Regions from separate parts of the Homo sapiens genome. Here region 1 is linked to region 2. Evidence: promoter capture Hi-C in 16 types of primary human blood cells and fetal thymus (Javierre and others, 2016). All regions are on one chromosome and are shown on one strand. Each heading gives the region's core, a stretch centred on a gene start or on the middle of the fragment in contact. The rest is flanking DNA. Distances are from core to core; before and after follow the strand shown.

The links. The method cuts DNA at HindIII sites, captures the fragments that hold promoters and counts their contacts. A CHiCAGO score of 5 or more calls a contact.
Region 1: the fragment with the promoter of BST1 here is called in contact with the fragment with the promoter of CC2D2A in region 2 in 14 of 17 cell types (naive CD8 T cells, non-activated CD4 T cells, M1 macrophages and 11 more); the score reaches 10.9 in naive CD8 T cells.

The regions. Positions count from the first base shown.
Region 1 is chr4:15,701,560-15,706,926 of GRCh38, reverse strand. It overlaps BST1 (bone marrow stromal cell antigen 1), which reads right to left and starts at 3,862. Exons shown (of 9, transcript NM_004334.3): 1 at 3,595-3,862; 2 at 1,286-1,412. The coding sequence starts at 3,782. RefSeq lists a silencer at 3,844-3,923. The HindIII fragment of the contact is 13,056 bases long and covers 1-5,367 here.
Region 2 is chr4:15,466,350-15,471,724 of GRCh38, reverse strand. CC2D2A (coiled-coil and C2 domain containing 2A) reads right to left here and starts at 1,843. Exons shown (of 37, transcript NM_001378615.1): 1 at 1,668-1,843. The HindIII fragment of the contact is 6,808 bases long and covers 1-3,867 here.

The DNA of each region.
Region 1 (5,367 bases), core at 2,613-5,112, 230 kb before region 2:
AGTTTATATTTAGACTAGAAGGTCCCCAAGGGTGAGGGCTGTTTTTCACTGTTACATCCTTAACCCTTAGCACCAATGACTGGCAAACAAATAGCCCCGGAAGTATTTACTGAGTTCATCAACTAGCACCGAATCTATGAAACAGAAGGTTAAAAAGTCAGCTTCCCCACTTTTAGTGACAGGAGGGCAGCAAGGTTCAAAAGACAGCATATACTCAAAAATCATGTTTTCAGTCTATTCTATCTTTGAACCTCACAGTTCCATTTACTTGCCTTTACAAATAACACACAATGGAAAAAATCAGGTTAACAATGTTTATGTCACAGAAACAAAAATGGTGTCTAGCATTCCTTAAACTTGAGGTATTGTTTTAAGCAAGGGTTTTATGGAAATTTTCTCATTATTTTCATTTTATTAGACCTGAGAGTGTATACAGAATATAGATATGTGGTTTTCTTAAATAAACTGGTACTAAATAAATATAATCTTAAGACCCGTTAAATGGAGAGACTGGTCTCCCGGGAGGATACTGAGATTGAGAGTTTTCTGAATTACTCAAGGTTCAGGCCATTGGGCCAGTTAGGATGAAGGTTATTTAGAACTGGCCAGATGTGGAGGCCCAGTGTGACAGGTATGGCCATGTCCTGATGTCCTCATGTTGATTCTCACACTAACTTGCTAACTTAGGAAATTTTCTTCTGCCCACAACCAGCGGGAGATCTACAATCACTATTGGAAACTGATATGATTTGGATTTGTGTCTCTTGTAAAATTGTAATCCCCTATGTTGGAGGTGGGGCCTGGTGTGAGGTGATTGGATTATGGGGGTGGATTTCCCCCTTTGCTGCTGTTCTCCTGAGGGAGTTCTCAGAAGATCCAGTTGTTTACAAGCCTGTGGCACCTCCCTCTGCCCTTGGTCCTGCTCGTGCCATGTAAGACACCTGCTCCCACTTTGCCTTCTGCTGAAGTAAAAGCTCCCAGAGGCCTCCCAGAAGTAGATGTTGCCATTCTTCCTGTACAGCCTGTGGAACTGTGAACCAGTTAAACCTCTTTTCTTTGTAAATTACCCAGTCTCAGGCATTTCTTTATAGCAATGTGACAACGGACTAATACAGAAACAAAGCTAGCTTCCCACAGAGAGCTCAGCACACACATTATGTGTGCTGCCTGATGTTTCTGTGACATTGCAGGATGCAGGGGACAGCTAATGTCAACCTGGCCCATGCACCATCCATTTCTGTAGAGACAGAGAACACAGTTTTACCCAAGATGGTTGTGGTGTTACCTTATCTCTGGGAATAGAGTGCCTGGACAAGTTAATAAAAAGGTCATAGTCTGAGGGCAGCACGGAGCAGGGATCCTTGTCCAGCGCCACTTTAAAGGCTTCCCAGATGGCTGTGCAGTTCTTGTTCCTGTGCAAAAGTACAAGTTGGGAAGAACACACACATGCACATCATAATGTGTTGTGAAGTATGCCCATTTGTCTAAGAGCTTTACAAGAGATTTTTCATATAGTAACTGCAGAAGTAGGCTTACAAAAAAGACAACGAATTGTCATGGCTTAGGTGACAGATTCAGAAATCTGACACTGGAATTGTCTCTCTGAAGGCACTGCACAGATTTCTCAGAGCTAAGGAATACAGCCTTGCCCCAGGCTCACGGAGACAAGCAGAAATGGCACCGAGCAGGAGGTGACAAATTCAGTCAACTATACAGCAGGTGCCTCTTCATTTAGACCTAACGGTGGGGCCAGTCTCATAGTCCAGTTCCAGTGTGGAGCTCGGGGACCAGGTGAGGCCAGGCCAGCCAGCAGGATGTGTAGTGTTAGGAGGGAGGCCCAATGCTGCAAAAGGCTTCCACCTCTGGCAAAGCAGGTGCACCCTCCAGTGCAAGCCCCTCTTGAGGTCCATGCTAGTTTTCAAAAAATATTTCCCATAGCATTTGTAACTTTGTTTCTCATACTGGGTGGTGTGTAACACAGGTGGTTCTCTGCTGTTTCTTATTTGCCTGAAATGTGCGACAATAAAAATGATCAGCACAAGAAAGACATCACAAACATAAGAAAAGGGGGGCCACAGAAGGAACAAAAATCAGTAAGAAATGCAGCACTGGCAAGAAAGACCCAAACTTCAGAAATCCTCCAGATTTAGGGGATCTGAAATTTGAATTCTGGAAGGACTGGACTCAAGGAATTCCAACCTGAGATCACATTCTGGGTTCTGAGTATTCAGACTAAACATCTGCTGGGTGGCAATGGGCTGTTACCCAGTTCACCTCTACCCCACCCTCACTTCTAGAGGGATACCTCTCCACCCTCCTTCACACTCACACACACCTCTCACCTCTAGACCACACACACATCCCTCACCTCTAGACCACACACACATCCCTCACCTATAGACCACACACACACACCTGTCACCTCTAGACTACACACACACACCCCTCACCTCTAGAACAAACACACACACATCTCACCTCTAGAACACACACACAACTCACCTCTAGAACACACACACACACACATCCCTTACCTCTAGAACACACACACCTCTCACTTCTAGAACACACACACCCATCATCTCTAGAACACACACATCTCACCTCTAGAACACACACCCCTCAACTCCAGAACACACACACACCCCTCACCTCTAGAACACACATACACACCTCATCTCTAGAACACACACTCTCCTCAGCTCTAGAATACACATACACCCCCTCACCTCTAGAACACACACACCCCTCACCTCTAGACCACACACACATCCCTCACCTCTAGACCACACACACATCCCTCACCTATAGACCACACACACACACCTGTCACCTCTAGACTACACACACACACCCCTCACCTCTAGAACACAGATACACACACACCTCTAGAACACATGCACGCACCCCTCACCTCTAGAACACACACACACACATCTCACCTCCAGAACACACACACCCCTCACTTCTAGAACACACACACCCCTCACCTCTAGAATACACACACCCCTCACCTCTAGAGCGCACGCACACACACCCCCTTCACCTCTAGAACACACATGCACACACCCCTCACCTCTAGAACACACATACAGACACCTCACCTCTGGAACACACACACCCCTTACCTCTAGAACACACACACACATCTCACCTTTAGAACACACACACACACCCCTCACCTCTAGAGCACACACACACACACACACCCCCACCTCTAGAGCACACACACACACATCCACCTCTAGAGCACACACACACCTCCCACCTCTAGAGCGCGCGCACACACACACCCCCCTCACCTCTAGAACACACGCACACACCCCTCACCTCTACAGTGTGTGTGTGCGCGCACACACACACACTCATCTCTAGACCCCGCACAGCGCACCCCTCACCTGCAGACACACTTCACAGCCCCCTCCTCACTCGCCCCCATCGTTCAGGACCATCGCTGTCTCCACACTCACCTCTCCCCTCAAGGCCTCTCTCATTGCCCCCTCACCCCGAACTTTAGCGCCAGTTTTCCCCTCCCCAGGCCCTCCCCACCGTTGCCTCTTTCCGGCTCCCCTTCCACCCGGCCGACTGCCTCACCGCTGCTCGGGACTCAGCAGTGCGCGGTACTCGGCGCAGCGGCCCAGGAAGATGTCCCGCAAGTGTGCGCTGGTGCCCTCCCCGCGCCACCGCGCGCGCGCCCCGCCCGCCGCCAGCAGCAACAGTAGAAGCAGAAGCTGCAGCAGCAGCTGGAGCAGCCGCGATGCCGCGCACCCCTGGGCCGCCATCGGGGAACTTTGGTCCCTCCAGTCCCGTGCTTCCTCCACTCCCCTTCTCTCCTTCTACCAAGGCGGTTCCGCAAACTGATGCAGGGCGGGACTCTCGCTCGGATATCTCGCTGTTTGCCGTTTCCCGTTCCAGACAATTTCAAGACTGAGCGTGGGGCGGGGCGCGGCGGCTCATGCCTGTAATCCCAGCACTTTGAGAGGCCTAGACGGGCGGATCGCTTGAGTATAGGAGTTCGAGACAAACCTGAGTAACATACAGGTGAGAAACCTCCTCTCTACAAAAAAATACAAAACTTAGCTGGTCCTGGTGGTGCGCATCTGTAGTCTCAGCTACCTGCGAGGTGAGATGTGAGGAGGCTTGACCCCAGGGGATCGAGGCTGCAGCGAGCAGTGATTGCACCACTGCACTCCAGCCCTGGGCGACAGAGTGAGACTCTGTCTAAAAAAAAAATTAATAAATAAATAAAATTAAAAAAGAGTGAGCTTGGAACATCACCCAGGACAGGACCAGTGCACTGTGGCCCAGGCTAATCTTGACCGCTGTCCACGGGGAGGGAGCCCCAAAGAAGCCGCAAGGTTGAAGGAGAGGTGAGGAGAGGTCAGTCATCATCAGAAGAAATACTTTTCTGGCTCCAAAGGACGACAACTTTGACAGATGCCCTCTTTCACACCAACCAATAAGTGGTGTTTGTTTGTTTTCAGGAAATAATAACCACAACAACGTGCCAAGCACTTTGCAAGTATAATATTAATTACTTTCCGCAACACCCTTCCTAGCTAAGTTTGTAATTTCTCTCGCTTTAGCAATGGATAAACTCAGGGAAGTTAAGCATGTTCGGCCCTCCAGATTTGCGGATTCATCATCCAAATTCAGCTAACCACGGATGAGAAACATTTGAGGAAAAAAAGAATGCTTGCATCTGTACGGAACATGTACGGACTTTTTTTTCCTTGTCATCATTCCCTAAATAATCCAATGTAACAACTACTTATGTAACAATTACATAGTACTTGATATTACAAGGAATCTGGAGATGACGTGAATTATAGAAGAGGATGTGCAAATACTGTATACTACACCATTTAATATAAGGGCCTTGAGCATCTGTGGATTTTGGTATCCAGGAGGTTCCTGGAACCAATTCTCCATGGATACCTACCGCCGACTGTAACTTGTCAGAGGTCACAATATCCCTTCCTGATAGATGCAAAATCCTGGAGATGTTCAGTTTAAGAGAGCCAGGATTGGCCGGGCGCGGTGGCTCACACCTGTAATCCCAGCACTTTGGGAGGCCGAGGCGGGTGGATCACGAGGTCAAGAGATCGAGACCATCCTTGCTAACACGGTGAAACCCCGTCTCTACTAAAAATACAAAAGATTAGCCAGGCGCGGTGGCGGGCGCCTGTTGTCCCAGCTACTCGGGAGGCTGAGGCGGGAAAACGGCGTGAACCCAGGAGGCAGAGCTCGCAGTGAGCCGAGATCGGGCCACTGCACTCCAGTCTGGGCAACAGAGTGAGACTCCGTCTCAAAAAAAAAAAAAAAAAGAGCCAGTATTAATAGAATACCACGTGGAGGCCCAAGTCC
Region 2 (5,375 bases), core at 594-3,093:
ATATGTGGACCTGAGTTCCAACTTCAGCTTTATTTATTAGCTGTGTGATCTTGGAACAATGCCCTCCCTTCTCTGAGACACGTTTTTTTTTTTTTTGTCTGCAACATTGCAATCATACTTCCTACCTTGAAGGATGATTAATTTATAAGGGCTAAATGATGAAATGTGTGTAGTAAAATGCCTAGCACAGGCTGGGCTCTCAATATTGGTAGGTTTTGTTACTAAGAAAAAGTGATTGTGGGGAGGGAAAGTGGAAAAAAGGAATGAGGAGGGAAAAGAGCTTGGGGGATAGAAGAGGAGTCATGAGAAAGACCTTAGGTGATGTTCAAGCCCACCCACCTTCAGCTCCAATCTTCAACCCCCAGCTACCATAACTCATGTTTCATGTCTCCCTCCCTTCAGCCAGGCCCAGGGCAGTTGCCTTGCTGTTTCCATTTATGGTGCTTCTGAAACCTCCTGCACTTCTACCCATGAGTATTTTCTTCCTCACACCCTGAGAACATTTTTCTGTTCCCTCCTGGAGCTTGGACACCTGGGGAGGTGCCACATACATTGTTTTGGAATACATTATCTTATTCTACAAGTTATTCCAGCTGCAGTTTCCCTTAGCATAAGGTTAGTGACCAATAGCTTTATAGAATCATTTAATCAGCTCGATATAATGTACACTGGCCTTGAAGAGTACACATGAGTACCATATTTGAGCTGTGTTACGTGATATATGACCAGTGCATTTACATGATGTGCTAAGTACTGGAAGCCCCTCCCTGGATGTCATCCCACTGTCCTCTCAGTGTTTTTATAAATCTCTTATGGCACTTAGCTCATTGTACTCTTATCATGTGTTTATAGGTCTGTTTTCCCAGCAAATTCTGAGCTTCTGACCTAGTCTAATTTATGTTTGCACACTCTAAACTTAAATTCATTGCCTGGTGCATTGTTGATGCTCCATAAATGTTTGAATGAATGACTCTATAAGTGAGCTCTAGGATATATATATATATATATATATATATATATATATATATATATATAGAGAGAGAGAGAGAGAGAGAGAGAGAGAGAGAGAGAGAGATTTCATGCTGGTGCTGAATTTATTTGCAGAAAAGGTTATATGAAAATGCAGTAGCAAACATATTTCTTATTTGACTTTATTAGCTTTTCATACCACCTCTTTGCAATGAAGGGAAACAAACAATCAGCTTAAGTTGTAGCCAGTACATTTTCTTGAAGTCTTTGGAAAGCACAGCAACTCTTAGCACTGTGGTTAGTAGCCCTTTCTCTGTCTCATACCAAGAAAAGTGTATTTTGCAGTAATTAGTGCTTCTCCCCTTAAGCCAGTTTGAACTAAAAGGCCCATAAATGCAACACGCAGCTAATGTTTCACAGAGCTTTGGTCAGAGAGCATTTTCACTCAGGACTTGTGATGAACTGGACTTACATTTCCTGCAAACCAGATACCAGATAGCAGCTCAAATCAAAGCTGCCAAGTAATGGTCTATGTTCCCATTTCAGAAAGTAAAAACATAAATAACGATGAGAGCCCCTAAATTTACAATTCATTAAATCCAGTCTCACGGTATCCTGGAGAGGCTGAACTTCAAGCCGGGTAACTGAAAACAGGAAATCACTGTTGCAGCCTAAAGTCCGGTTAGGGACTGATTTACCTTAAGAAACTTTACAAAAGGCACTTTGCAGATTCTGCATTCTAGGATGGAAGTGGAGAGAGACGGTGCTGTTGAATCTTTTAAAAGGGTCCGGAGGGAAAGGCTGAGTGTTGGAGATGCCCCTGGGCTCCTCCCTGGGAAGCTGCAGCCATGTCTTGGAGCAAAAACACCAGCTTAGCAACCCGTTCCTAAGGAAGGTCACTCGGTAGCTTTTTTTTTTTTCCTTTAAAGTGACAGGCTACTTCCAGTAGTGGAGTACAAGCATGCTGGGTAAGCAGAGACGCACAGCCTGCAGTAGAAGGACGGAGAGAAATCAACATGAGCAGCACTGGAAATTAGGTCAAGCCTTAAGAGCTGCCCCTCCCTCATGTCATCCGGTCGTCTTGCATTTCCAATGAAGAACAGGCTCAGAGGTGGGGGGATTTAGAATCTTAAAAGGTCGTCATTACATGGTGAAGCTGTCTAACGTGGCAGCAGCAAAAGCTCTGTGGAGGTGCTGCAGAGTACCAACAAATGTTGCACTTGAGTGTTTTCCAGTTAAAAGTGGAAGGTTGAACGCACAAGTTTAATCTTTGCCTATTCTCTGAATCCCACTGCAATTCCTGAAAACGGATATAAATGTTATGGCTCAAAAAAGTTGGAAAAAAAAAAAGAGGGAGAGGTAGGAGGCAAAGTAGCTGGAAGAGTAATAGAATGAATGGAGCCAAGGAAACACACTCCAATAGACTAGTGTGTATGTGCACATGTGTTTGTGTGTATTTGTGTCTGTGTGTATGGTGTGTGTATGTTTGTGTGTATGTGTATTGACTGTATCTTCTTATTTTCTGTATTCTTGATGCTCTGGCATTTGGAGCCTTGATCCTGGAGAAACTGATTCTCCTATGTTAGCTAATTTCTAGAGATAGCAAATGATTCCCCTGAAATATGCAAAGTCTCCTTTGATATACAAGCCAACCAATCCAGAGCCCACACAACCATCTCCATTATCAAACTCTCACACACTAAGCCAATATTCCTCCTGTCCTAAGTCACCCCAGGTCCAGATACCAGACCACTATAGCCCAGAGAACACCACGATTATTCAAGCTATCCACTCCTAAATTTATGCAGCACCCTACCCTGCTTCACCTATTCCTTCCTGGGAAAACCCTAGTAAAGGCTCTGTGCTGTACTCTGCTGTCTCCGTTCTGCCTTCTGACCAACATTGGTTCTTCCCTATGTGGTCCTGTGTGGCATGCCATGTTCTATGATTTGAATGTGTCTTCCCAAAAGCATGTATTGGAAACTTAATCCCTAACACAATGGTGTCGGGAGGTGGCACCTAATGAGAGGCAATTAGGCTGTAGGGCTCTGCCCTCATAAATGCATTAATGCCATTATTGCAGGAGTGGATTCCTTATAAAAGAATGAATTTGGCCTCGTTTTCTCTCTTTCTCTTTCTTGCTCTCATGTTTTCTTGCCTTGCACCATAGGATGGTGCAGCAAGAAGACCCTTGCAGGATGCCAGCCCCTTGATCTTGGACTTCCCAGCCACCAGAACTGTGAAAAATAAATTTCTGTTCATTATAAATTGCCCAGTCTGTGTATTCTGTTACAACAACAGAAAACGAACCAAGACACCATGCTTCTTGTTTCTAGGGATCTGTTAAGTATAAACTTCTTCTTTTGTGCCAATCATGTTTGTGTCTGTGTGTCTTACCATACCTAATTAAAACAAATCCAGAGTACATTTTTTGACACAGCCTGCATGCATGTGTATGTGTCAATGTATTTGTGTTTGTGTCTCTGTACGTGTATGTATGTGTGTGTGTGTCTGTGTATGATGGGGTGTGCACGTAGGCATGAATATGAGGAAATGAGCTGATTTACTGTGCCAGGATTTGGGGCAGCAGTGTTATAGCTGAATTGTGTTCTCTCTCATCCCCAAAGATGCTGAAGTCCTAACCTCAGTATCTCAGAATGGGACCTTATTTGGAGATAGGGTATTTACAGAGGTAATCACATTAAAATGAAGTCATTAGAGTGAGATCTAATCCAAGATGATTGCGTCCTTACAAAAGGGGAAATTTGGATTCAGAGACAGACAAAATAGAAGAAAGGCAACGTGAAGACATGGGGAGAGCACCATCTCCAAGCCAGGGAACACTCAAGGCTATCAGCAGCCAGGAGAGAGGCCTGGAACAGACTGTCTCTTGAAGCTTCACAAAGAATCAACCCTGCCACACCTTGATTTCAAATTTCTAGTCTCCTGAATTGTTAGAAAATTTCTGCTGTTTAAGCCACTCAGTGTGTGGTACTTTGTTACAACAGCATCAGGAAACTAATACAACCATAGACTAAGGAAGGTGGGGAGAGATACGGGGCTAAAAATGCAGGAAGATTTGAAAGTCTGTATATTAAGGGATTGATCCTCAGGATCCTTTTTCTTGGCAGCCTGAAAAATGCCCATTCCTCAGGCATAATTTCCGTCCTCCACATCTGCCTCATCTGCTGCTGCCCAAAGGAGACTGGCGGTTTCTTTTCTAGGGAAGTTAAACCAGAGACTCTCTGGTCTCAAGTTCCCAGGTACTGCAGCAAGTGAGTGTGTCTCAGGATTGAAAACTGTATATGAAATGAAGATGTTGCAGGGCCCTTTCTGAACCTTTCTCAAGAACTTAGACAATCAAGAACATGCCATTGGCTCCCCCATCCTACCTCTACCTGCACAAAACTGGAGAAAGTAGAAAATTATTTTCTGGAAAAACTGAATGATTATAAAGCACAGACCCTACATACTGACATTTCTGGATCCTCCAATGACAAAGCTAGCATATTGCCCTTACAGAAAAGCATTACAAAAAACATTAAAGGATCTCAGGCTAGGAAATTTAATGCTTGTAGTTATAAAAAGAGAGAACCATGAAAATGGAAAAGTATAATTTACCAAAGGAGTAATACAAGAACAACTGTATGAAATAATGTATTTTCCAATTGAAGGGGACAATCTACTATCTCGTGCTGGTAAAAGAAGACAATAAGAAAACTTGTCTGTCTTGGCTTGTATTCTGCATGTGGTGAGAAAAATATGAAGAATTTACAACCATTGGTTTGCACCATGCAGTTTGTCTTATTTATGCTCCTTATATATTTTAGGAGGCCCCTAAGTGATAACTTTTAAAAAGTGGCCTCTGTCTACTGTATCCCCGTGGGGTGCCAGGCAGAAGTTATTACAAAACTTTTCTGGAGGAACACACCTTCAATTGGACAATTCAGGATGTCCACAAATAAACACAGAGGAAGATGAGCTCACAACCCAAAATTAGACAACAGAAGAGAAACACTCAAGAGTCCACAGACAAACCAGAGGACACTATTAGATACTCAAGAGTTTCTTGCAATACAATAATCAGATGGAGAGTGGAAAAATAACAATGACCAAATATTCAAGAAGATACAAGGAGGATTTGAAAATATGAAAGAAGAGTGAGACACTATCAAAAAGATCAGACAAATTCAAAAAGTAACCAGATAGAACTTTTAGAAATAAATAATACAGTCACAAATTTAGATAAAAGTCAAAGAATGTGCTAAACTGTAGATGAGAGAGCTGAAGAGATGCAAAAGATAGGTTTAAAAAATTGAAATGTGGCACAGAGATATTGAAAATAGGAAAGAGTAGGTAAAAGATACAGGGAGAAATTGATGAGGTCCACCATATCCAGTACAGTA